Linked DNA regions of Homo sapiens: region 2 is linked to region 1. Evidence: promoter capture Hi-C in 16 types of primary human blood cells and fetal thymus (Javierre and others, 2016). All regions are on one chromosome and are shown on one strand. The core of a region is centred on a gene start or on the middle of the fragment in contact, and the rest is flanking DNA. Distances in the headings are between cores, read along the strand shown. Region 1 holds the start of RGS1 (regulator of G protein signaling 1). Region 2 overlaps LOC107985242 (a long non-coding RNA gene).

Region 1 (6,012 bases), core at 2,814-5,313:
GTGCTTTCAAGAATGTCTTGGAACACGGGCCTATTATCAAGAACTTAACTGGTAAAATTAGATTTAGGGTGAATGAGGCTTATTGAATCACATAAGCTCAGTTCACTGAAGGTCCCACATACTATTTTCTTGTAAATTCTCAAATTATAGAAAGGAGGCAGTCAGTGTTGACTGAAAGATTGGAGCAGAGTGAGAAAAAGAAACTAGATTCTTATCTTGCTCAGTTGCACTTACTGAGATCATTGAAGTTTAGTGTGTTGCATATATTTGCTCTTATTAAAACCCATCATATTTCTTCACAACAAAATCATAAGCAAGTCTAAAATGTTTAAACTTTTCATTCACACGATATAAAGTTTTCACCAACCCTCTATACACATACAGAGAAAAATCCTTCTAAACTCACTTTTGTTGCAGCTTTTTCAAATTTTCAAATAAACTCTATGAAATTTAGCTGAAACACTTTTAGTAGCCTTATCTATAAACCTTGAAGACCAAGGAAGCTCTGAGTGGTTATGCTAATTCAACTAAGTCATTCAGAGTACTTTTGAAAGTTTGCAAAGCTTTGTGAGTACATATGGGATCCATTTTTCCATGATCCTTCAACATAAAACTGGTCTCTTACTAGAGACCAGTTTCTCCATTGCAGCCATTTGAACTTTCCAAGGGATGCTAAACACAAATGCAGAAACAAGCAAAGAATAGATACATGTTGATTTTACAGTAAAGACAGCAGTACTTTGCTTCCTTTCTCATACTTCCAGAGGTAATTACTCCTCTGTGTTCTTTTCTCTGTACATTCCTCTCTGATGGCACCTCTCACAAACATCTGTCAGCCCCACTACACAGTGAACCCCTTAAGACAGAGATTCATTCATCTTTGTATCTGCAGTGCTTTATGTGTGATACACTGTAGGGATGCAATTAAACTTTGTTGAATCGAAACATTTTGTTTCAATGGATCAAGCTATCTTTCCACGTCACTGACTTTTCCAGTATGGATACATTTTTATTTTAAAATAGAATATTATACTCATCATTACCCCTTGTCTCACAATTCTAATATCCACAATAAGATTTTAGCAACATTTTAAAAGTTCAAACAACATCAGGTTTAAGGAAAGCACTCCCTATTAGTATTCCAGTAATTGGAGTAATTGAAACCAAATGTTTCCATTCAAATCAGTTCAGCAAAGATTAAAATTTTCCTTATTTTTCCTATCAATATCAACAGCCATAATCTGAAATGTCTTACTGAACCAATCTCCTAGGTATTTTAAAATATAACACTGGGATTTTTAGGGAAGGAAAAGTATTCTGTATGGTACTATAATGATGGATACATATCATGATACATTTGTCAAACTCATGGAATGTACAGCACCAAGAGTGAACTCTAATGTAAACTATAGATTTTAGATGATAATGCTGTGTCACTGTAGGTTCATCAATTATAACAAATATTTCACACTAACGAGGTATGGTGCTGGAGGTGGAGCTGGAGGCAAGGTGAAAGGTGGGGAGTTGTGGGAACTCTGTACTTTCCACTCAATTTTACTGTAAACCTAAAACTTCCCTAAAAATGAAGTCCATTAATTTTTCTTTAAAAAAAAAGATAACACTAAGACTACATGAAGTATTCCTTTTCCTAGAAACTCAAACCTAGATGTTTTAGCACAGTTTCAAAGAGGGAAAACTGAAACCCAGATCGTGAGACCCACTGTTTCTTCTACTGACGTTTTTGAAATCCTCTACTATTTCAACCAAAGTCATTGATTCAATAAAGTTACAATTTGACAGTTTATCTTTTCTTAGTGAAGTTTACAAAGAGGGGCCAGATAGTGGCACTCTCTTTAAAATTAATAGGGAACTTTCAATGCCCTGCCATGCACTTGTCACACTTGCTGATACAACTTGACCAAATTTGCCTTGTTCTGGAACACACAGACTTTGGGTGGATGAGCAAACAGCCTCTGAGAGAGCAGCTGCTTTATTGCATGACTAAGGTGACCTCATCAGCCAATTGTGATACAGGAATTTTGAAAGGACTCCCTCTTTCAAGAGTTTATATTTCTATTCAAGTGTGGAAGCATGCAGTTGTAAATGCTTGCGCTTCAAAATGTATATTGGGATAGGGGTAGCAAAATGTTGGGAGCATCAGAGCAGTTCCTAAATACACTACAGGCAAAAACTTATTTTGATCTCAGACCAGAGTTTCTTAACATAGTGTCAAAAAAACACATTATTTCAAAAAACTATTTTCCCTATCTAAAGAGGGTTTAGTTCTTTAACAAGTTAGGAGTCCAACATTTCCCAAACTTACTTGGCCCCATAATTTTTGCTGCTGCTCTTGTTCTTTGGAAACTGTCAGTATATTTGGATGATAATACTAGTGGGCTGTTAAAAATAATTTTTAAATCATTTTACTCTAACATAACTTACTCACAATTATTTAGAGGAGTGAGAGGATACTAGATCAACAAACATGAGCAATGTTGAAGATTTTAACAGGAAATTAAGTATGGACTGAACCACAGGAAGTATACAACCAAATGCCTTTATGTCATCTGTCTTTGAGTTTCATCGGTCTCATTAGGGTCACTTCCAAAGTGGCCAGCTCATCTCACCAGTTATCTTTCTTAATGCCTTATGTTATCTTCCCAACATAAAATGATGCTTGTTACATACAATATAATGAGCTCATTATAATGAAATTAATGACTGTGTATAAGTGAATTTTATAATATTGTAAATGTGTTTTCTTCAAATATTCTTTATCCTGACGATAGAACCAGAACAGAAAAATTAATACTCCCCTCCCTTTTATCAGCTTTACCTAATACCATCAGAAGCTTCACTAAGTAAATGCTTTTTTGTCCTTTTAAAGGAAAGTATTGTCCTTCCAGGGGTAAAATCCAAGGAGGCTTAAGTTAAACTGGGTACTCTATAAATAAGCCACACTTGTTATATAAACTTTTGAAAGCTTATATTTTACTAACTTCTCTATCCTTATAAATGATTAGTCATCTAGTTCCTTGAGTTTTGTTTGTGTTTTAAACTTTAATCTCAATTAAAGCTAAAACTGTTATCTCTCCAGAGATACTGCCAAAATGTGAAAGATCATTACCTAAGAAGTACACATTATTGGTCTATCCAAATAGACTTTTATTTTACCTTGAGCAGTTTTTCCTCTGATACTGTGACCTTGGTATCAGTATGTTTACAAATTATGTCATATTTGTATACAATTAAACATTTATTTATTTATGATTGGTTTTAATTAAACTTTATTTTTTCCTAATATGCAAAATATGCAAAAATCAAAGTTTGATATACTAGTTATATTCTTAATAAATATGAAAATAATATTAAAAACCATGCACCCCTTAAAATCATCCTATGTATTGCCAGTCGATGTCTAGCACACACCTTGGAAAATATTAACATGGAAATTTCCTGCCATGGAAATAAGGGATGAGAATTGGAGTGGGAAAATGTGAAGATAGCCTCTTATAACTTTCCCTCCTATCAGATATGTGCAAAATAATTAAACAAAAATTATTTGTTTACTTTGCCCTGCTTCCTGCAGAAAAGAAGAGAACTCTTAAAATATTTTGATCAGATGAATTTTATAGTCAAGGACTATCCAAAGCATGGAGTAAGATACAACTCTATGTGATGAATTTCTATGTGAGTTTCTATATGATAAATTAATACGCCAAATGAAACAGTTTATTGAAACATGCAACTTTTTTAAAATAAACAAACATCCTCCAGAACCAAAGACTGATGCTGTTAATGCTTTAGACATGTGACATATGTGTGTGTACCTCTGTATGTTTAATTTTCTTTCTTTCTAATCAAGTGACCTGTTCTCGTTTGGTTAAGTTTCAACCACAAGACACCACTGTATGCTTTTTTTTTTTCAAGATACACGTCACAGCACACCAAGAAAAGGGGAACTTCCAGTGTCTGTGGTAACATCACTTGATAAACAGACTCCTTTAAACAGCAAGTGCCTGTCTGCATTCTACTATATAAAGCAGCAGAGACGTTGACTAGCGCATATTTGCTAAGAGCACCATGCGCGCAGCAGCCATCTCCACTCCAAAGTTAGACAAAATGCCAGGAATGTTCTTCTCTGCTAACCCAAAGGAATTGAAAGGAACCACTCATTCACTTCTAGACGACAAAATGCAAAAAAGGAGGCCAAAGACTTTGTAAGTTTGTTCAGAGTCTCACTTTGTGAATTTTAACAAGTTATCTTTAATGGCAGAAGGATTGAGAATGAATGGAAGAGAGTGTGAGCATTTAGTTTAGCCAGATCAGAGGAGTTAATTGCCTGTTGTGAGTAATAAGTAATATTCAGCTGCATTAAAAAATAAATCTTGATATGGCATTAAATTGGGTAGGAGTTTTTCTCTACACAGGCTCATAAAAATGGGTTCTATAGCAAAATGTTGTATCAACCATTTTTAGTATTGCCTTATTCCTTAGAGAAATTTATTCTATGTCTTTTTACAAATAAAATGAATTCTGAAGAAATATGAATATTCACTTTTATGTCTTTTGTAGTGGAATGGATATGAAAGCATACCTGAGATCTATGATCCCACATCTGGAATCTGGAATGAAATCTTCCAAGTCCAAGGATGTGTAAGTACACTAATACACTAAACTATCATTATCATTTACAAGAGAAGCCTATGCATTATCTCTATATCCCAGCAAGGGATAAATACTGCGCACAGTAGACTTCATTTCTTTTAAGTAACATGCCAAATAAAATTAGACTATCAGTACCAATGTAAATTGAATACAAATGTGTACACACACATATTGGACTTTATCTATTTGGATTTTTTCAAATTTTATTGGCAGGTTTTTTTTTTCATAACTATAGTAACTCTAAGGGAAGTTTTGCATTTTGTGAATAAATTTTAACATATTTATTAGAACTACAGTTTCAGTTTGTGAAGTTATCAAAGTGTAACAGCCATTCTTATTTCATTTGTGCTTACATTTTAAAAATTGACTAATGTATGTACATTTTGTCCCCTGCAGACTTTCTGCTGCTGAAGTAATGCAATGGTCTCAATCTCTGGAAAAACTTCTTGCCAACCAAAGTAAGTATAACTATTGAATGTTTCTGGGTTCAGCTAAATACTCTAAAAAATTGAATGGCTTCACTAAATATAGTATTCTGGGTAGGATAGTATGCAAAAGGTTGTATTCTAGTTTGTCTGTAGTTACTGATAACTTCAGCATAGTATGCCTCTTAATAATGCTGACTTAGCACTCAATTCTGCCAACTCCTTTTAGACAAATTTGCCAAGACAATTAGGTATTTTCATAGATCATTATGGAGATAAAATTAAACATTGTGCTGGGATTCTGATATGTAAAAATTTTAAAAGTAAGCCAAATATTTTAATATGTACATTGCCATTTTGAAATCTGCCTAAAGAATGTATTTTTCTACACTTGGATGTAACAAGTATGATTCATTCATTCAATTAATTAAATTATCTTTCATACATTCATCATTCATCTCACCCTTATGTAGAGGACATTGTAGAGGTACCAAGGATTCAAAATCAAAGACAGTCTCTTACTGCCTTGAAGGTGGTTGAGATACATAACATAAATAATTGCATTATTATAACATGATAGTTTTTATGACATAAATATGATAGAAGGATTTTTAAGCACATATAGTCTTGTGGAGATTTTCTGATGAGAGAAGGTAAAGAATGAAATCAGCTTGCCATCCCCTTGTCTTGGGCATTACAATTCTACTGAGATTAGGACCTTTTTCAGAGGTGTAGATGAGCAGTGTGGTCTCTATCTCTAAAGAGTGAGATTATTCTTTTCTCCCCACAGACACCCTAAGGAGCTTTACTTGGGAATCACATTGTTCACTCTAGCTCAGCTGACTTTGTTTATAATTCAGCTAAACAAATAAATGGTATAGATATGGACCATAAATGGTGCCATATAAAAGTCTCAGTG
Region 2 (5,637 bases), core at 2,981-5,480, 1.7 Mb after region 1:
CCTGTTATGCAGCTAGCAGATGGAAATGTGGTTAAGAACTTCCTCTTATACCAGAATGTTTGCTCAGAAGGGACTGTCCCAACTTAGGCGCAGGTGTAATAAATCAACTAAATGTCCTTAACTTGACTCAAGCTCATTATAATATCATTAGCATGACATCTGCATTGTGGTTTCACCACCACCACCCCTACTACCCACTGGGCCTTTCTGTGGTGCTTATGCATAATAATTAAGATGGAATAACTATGGACAAGAACGCACCTGGGCAGTAAGAACTGGGACCAGGAAGCAACTAGGAAGTAAAAGGTTGTGCAAGATGCAAATGAGAAACACACCCCTAGAAATGAGGTTTTTAATCCCCTAGGGCAACCCACTTTTGAGTCCCCTCTCCTTACTGAGCGCTTTCTGTCACTTAATAAAGTCTATTCTGCCATACTCACCCTCCTATGTCCATGTACCTCATTCATCGTGGTGGTGAGACAAGAACTCAGACCTCGCTAAGCTAAGGAGTAAGGCTTCTGCAACAGAACAAGCCAGAATTTCCTACATGAAATATTTATTTTCACATCTTTGTGATGTTCTGACAGTGTGCTGAAGGAAAATGACTTTTTTCCATTCTTTATTTTAAAATTTTGTATTTATTATTAAAGACTCATATTAAGTATTTCCTTTAAACTCCTTTCCTGGATCTCTGATATGAGTTGAATTTACCTCATTTACGATGGCAACCTAAACATACCATTATATCATCACTTAGTGTACTGTATAAAAATCTGTTTTCTATGGGTTACCTCTTCTACTAGGCTATAAGATCCCTATTTTGATTAACCTGGCTTTACTTACCTCTGTCTTTCAGTGTCTAGAATGTGCTAAAAATTTTTATCATAACATAATGAGGTCATTCTTAGTACTAGACAATTGGTAATAGGGTCCAGCCCCCTTGGTACCCATGGAATTAGCAGTTAACTTTTTGGCTCCCACAAGTAATGAGATTTATTGTACACCATCATCAAAATAATAAGTCTTAAAAAGGAGTATATCCTGCAGATGTAGAAACTTTACTACACATTATAACTACATCTTTTTGCCTCTGTTTATTCTGAAAGAAAAGCAATTTAACCTGATGTTTTAACGTCATGTGGTGCATACTATATAATATTAAAGCATGTAAATGGGGTGGTGGTGATCAATGCCTTGATAAACTTAGTTAGTGGTTTTCTTTCAACAGGCAAACCTCTAGGCTTAGTGTAAAGACGTTCTATGATATTTGTTCTAACCAGGACTAAGTCACTCCTTGTATTAGTAAGAAAATACTGTGGAAGACTAGAAACAAGGTGGTGGGGGTAGGGGTAAAAAGAAGAAGAGAAGGGGCGAGGATGAGAGGGAAGGAAGGGGAGAGGAAGAGAGGAGTAAGTGGAAGAGAGAGAGAGGAGAAATAAAGACACAGAAATAAAAAGAAAGGGAAATAGAAAAGATGCTTTCTTCTTCCTTCCTTGCTTGCTTGATTGCTATCTTGCTTGCTTTCTTTCTTTCTCTCTTTCTTTCTTTTTCTTTCTTCTTTTTCTTTTTTCTTTCAATGAAAATGTGTCATAGGAACAAATGTGGTGTTCCCTCTGAGACAACTACACTCCCAGGTGCCTCTTCCAACACATTTTCGTTCTCTTTTTATCATGGCATAGACAATTGTCAGCACTGCTGAAAACTAAATACAGAAAAAGTTGGTTGAGGTTATACTATTCCTTTCATGCTACAATGATGTAACATCATTAAGATCAAAGGGAATTGTTAACTTTCCTCTAATAATAAAAAACACACAAAAATACTGAAACCTTGGATAGGCTTACGAACATTTTAAAAGGCAGAATAACTTTCCCTTACTCAGGATAAATTTTGCCTCTTATCTCTAAATATTATCCTACTGTTTGACAAGAAATAAAAAAATTACTAAATCTTTCACATCCCATATTTTACTGCTGTCTATATTTTACATTTGATATAAACATTTTACAGCAGGTATTGTACACTGAAATTTGGATTCATTTATCTCATAAAAAGGAATACAAATGATGGATTGAAACACCCTGGTATCTAAAATTCTAAAAACATTAATATTTTTACTGAAAGTTATAGATTATATTAACACCAGGGTATAGTCAGTGAAAATACTCCCTACAGTTTAGTGTCAATAGTCTGAACAGCAGTCAGTTTTCCATAAAACATGAAAGCCAACAAATTCTGTTATTGGGTAACAAGCTGATCTAAGCCTAATCTATAGTTATTTACTTGAATGGTACAAGTGGATAAAAACATGTAACATCTTTTAAATGCTTATAAAAAATTTAAAGATAAATGCTAGTTTAATTATAGTCATATGCAAATAGGTTTTATTGTTAATACTGAATATAAAGTATAAAAACATAAATTATAGTCTTATGATAGAGACAAATGTCAGCCTTAATTGATGACACTCTATAAGCAATTTTCTGCTTGTAACATTTGTTTTAATTTTCTCACACAAATAACAGAACTTGCATTCATATAATTAAACATACATGGACTATTAATATTTTTGACATCATCTAGGGAATTTACTTAATTACGCTTCACTCTCTAAAACGTGTATTTACTGTTAAATTCTGAAGTAAATAATAACATTCAACAATATTTTCTATACCTCTGGAATTATAAATCCAGGACTGAAAACAACCCATGGAAGCTTGATCATCTCTCAGGAAAAATGTTCTGTAAGTCTGGAATATATACAAGTAATATTATCAATCACTAACTGTAAGTAAATAATTAATATTATTGTAAGGGCTATTATTTAATCTTTTAATCTACATATAGGATAGGTGTTTCATTTAACTTATAAAAATAATTATATAAAAATAAGAATTATTACTGCTTATACAAATTTTGAGGCTTTGCAATTCTGCTGCAGTAATATGGCTAAAAATAAATTGTACAAAGAAACACTTAAGGACATATAATGTGAAAGTATATGTGAATACAGTCAGAAATATTCTGGTAATGACTAGATATACGAATTTAGAGGATTGTTTTCCTCATCTTGTTAAGGTTTATTTGTTTATTTATCTTTATTTGTATTCAATAATCTTTAGTCCTAGAAAATTTTAGGGGAGAGTAAAAGAGAGTAAAGACATCCGTAAATTGTATGATTCATACTATGACCCAAAGACTGAGATCATCAGATATTGCAGAGAAAAAAAATCTTTTATTGAAACCCTCAAATAGTTTAGCCACAGTATAAACTGTAGAAGATGAAATGATGAACAAATATTCAATGCTCATACCCAAAAACAGGGGTTTTCAAGATTATTATGCTTCAGGATCACCCTGAGGGTGTGTTAACACACAGATCACTGGCCTTCACTCCATGCTCCCTCCTCCTGAGTGTCTGATTCAGTAGGTCTGTGATAGGGCCCAGGAATTTGCATTTCTAGTGAGTTACCAGTTGCTGCTAGGATAGAGACCACATGAGGGTCCTCCACCCAGGCTGTACAGTAACTCATCTCCGGAATATTTATCCCCTAAGTTCCTCGCATAATTTATTGTTGGGGAAAGCACTGTTGTTTTCTGAAGCTCTCCATATGAAAGGGCAGTCTCCAGGAATTATGTAAAACTTGAGTTGGGCATTGATATACGGATTGGGTCCACAAAGTTTTAAAAAAACACAAGAGGATATTTACTGATAACAATTACAGTTACATAGCATTTTCAACTTATAATGTATTTGCTTATGCTTTTTCTTGTTTAACTTTGGTCTTTACAACAACTCAATAAAGGAGGCAAGTATTATAATTTCTTTTCTTTAGAAAAGTGATCTGAAGCTCAGTAACATCCTTAGTTCATAACTTTTGTATGCATGTTTGCATAATTGAAATGAAAACATTCTGGCTGCAAGTTAAGTGATTATGGCTGTATACCCTATGCACCATATGCTTATTATGTCTATGAAACAGTAATGAGGCCAACATGGCCAGAAAGACTCCATTAGGCAGTAGTGAAAAAAATATGTAGGATATTTGGATAAAAGTAGATATGCGTAGGGTAGGACAAGACTATGGAATGTCTTGAAATCAAGTTAAGGAATTTGAAAGTTGTAGCAATCAATAAAATCAGTGTAAAATACTATCCTGCAACAGAAAGACGTGCAAATCATACACATATATAATATCTTACTATTTGGAATCTATTTTCTACTAACTTCAGGAATTGACTCACTCCAAAGCTGTAAAAAGAAAACAGAACATGTGTTTCTTCTAATTGGTACAGTCAGTCTCATTACAAATCCTGATCCCCAAAGTAGGAGGCTGGCGGGGGTAGAAAAGGAAAAGATACACAACTAAATTCCATGCAAGTTTTCATTCCAAGACTATTTTCTCCTGCTCTTCATTTTCTCATTAGGCATTGAGAAAAAAGTGTGGTCTTCTTGGCTGTGGGAGGCAGCATGGCTGGATCTCATGCTGGTTGCTGTGCTTTCTCTGCTGTGCTCTGTCTGGCCCAGCCCATCTGAGACACTGAGAGCTGTTGCTGAGGGCCACTGGCCTAACCACCACCTCTTCCCAGGCAAATGCACATTTGGACTGGTGTAACTTGTGGCCTGTTCTCTTTACATGAATAGTGCTGACCAACCCCTTCACTCATTCCTCATAGGTACTGTGGGCCCTACTAATGACTCTCTCACTTGGCTTACATAAGCTGCTCTCTAGCTTTTAGTAAAACATTACTATTCTTCATGGTAAAGACATCTGATAATCGTCTCCATCAGAGAAGATGACATCTTCCTCTTTGTCTTTCAGGAGATGTGCTAGGTTATGTCCACTTAGGAAGCAGGACCCAACATAGCACTAGACATACAAAAGACTTATTGGGGGAAACAACTGGTTGATGATAGAGGAGAGAGGCAGAGAAAGGAGGGTGAGCTTGCAGATCATGATGTGTAGGTTTGACCCCTGTGAAGGAGAAGGGAAGGAAGAGTTGGTGTGGAGAGTCTCAGACTGTAATGCGGTTCTAAGAAAATTTCTGCCAGTCATATAAAGAGTCATTGAGCTAAAGTCTTCCATTGGCAGAGTTGTGTGTCTCTCAGAAATTAGTCTGCATTATTACTACCAGCATGCCCAGTTGTTGGCTAGAAGGAGCCCAGGAAGGGTGGTCTCTATTTGAAAATGATGGATCCGAGGAAGGCAGCAGCAGTGACTATCGATTTTACCCCAATAATAGAGAACTGTGTGGTCTATTTTCTCGGCCACTGTAGGCGATGCTTCATACAACACAAATCTACTTCTATATGCAGGTTTTGGAAGCAGTTACTTATTGGGAGAGGCAGTTCACCATATCCCCCGAGCATTCCTGTATGTCCTTGTCAAGTGTGCCAAATTGCAAATGGCTAACCACTGTCTGACTGTGAGCAGTTTCTGTATCTAATTATGTGGCAACCAAATAGGTGAAGACCAGCACAGCATGGCTACTGTATAACTGTCCACTCACTAGAAAGGAAACTGTCATTTTTGCTGCCTGCCACAAAAGATGCTAGGTCTTCGGCCCTCAGTTCTTTAGCTGCATCACAATGCACTCTTTTAGTCTCATCTGGGATACTGAGATACCTTATGAGAC

The links. The method cuts DNA at HindIII sites, captures the fragments that hold promoters and counts their contacts. A CHiCAGO score of 5 or more calls a contact.
Region 2: a contact is called between a fragment that was not itself captured here and the fragment with the promoter of RGS1 in region 1, in 4 of 17 cell types (non-activated CD4 T cells, total B cells, total CD4 T cells and 1 more). The highest score is 9.5, in non-activated CD4 T cells.

Annotation. Positions count from the first base shown.
Region 1 is chr1:192,571,710-192,577,721 of GRCh38, forward strand. It overlaps RGS1 (regulator of G protein signaling 1), which reads left to right and starts at 4,064. Exons shown (of 5, transcript NM_002922.4): 1 at 4,064-4,220; 2 at 4,576-4,656; 3 at 5,065-5,126. The coding sequence starts at 4,084. All of the region lies in intron 3 of LOC105371664 (a long non-coding RNA gene), which reads right to left. RefSeq lists an enhancer at 3,909-3,988. The HindIII fragment of the contact is 3,705 bases long and covers 2,982-6,012 here.
Region 2 is chr1:194,289,679-194,295,315 of GRCh38, forward strand. All of the region lies in intron 2 of LOC107985242 (a long non-coding RNA gene), which reads right to left. It overlaps LOC105371670 (a long non-coding RNA gene), which reads right to left. Exons shown (of 3, transcript XR_922390.2): 2 at 2,675-2,750; 3 at 1,561-1,702. Among named protein-coding and RNA genes, the nearest start is that of LINC01031, 990 kb to the left of the region's middle. RefSeq lists a silencer at 1-88. The HindIII fragment of the contact is 3,033 bases long and covers 2,715-5,637 here.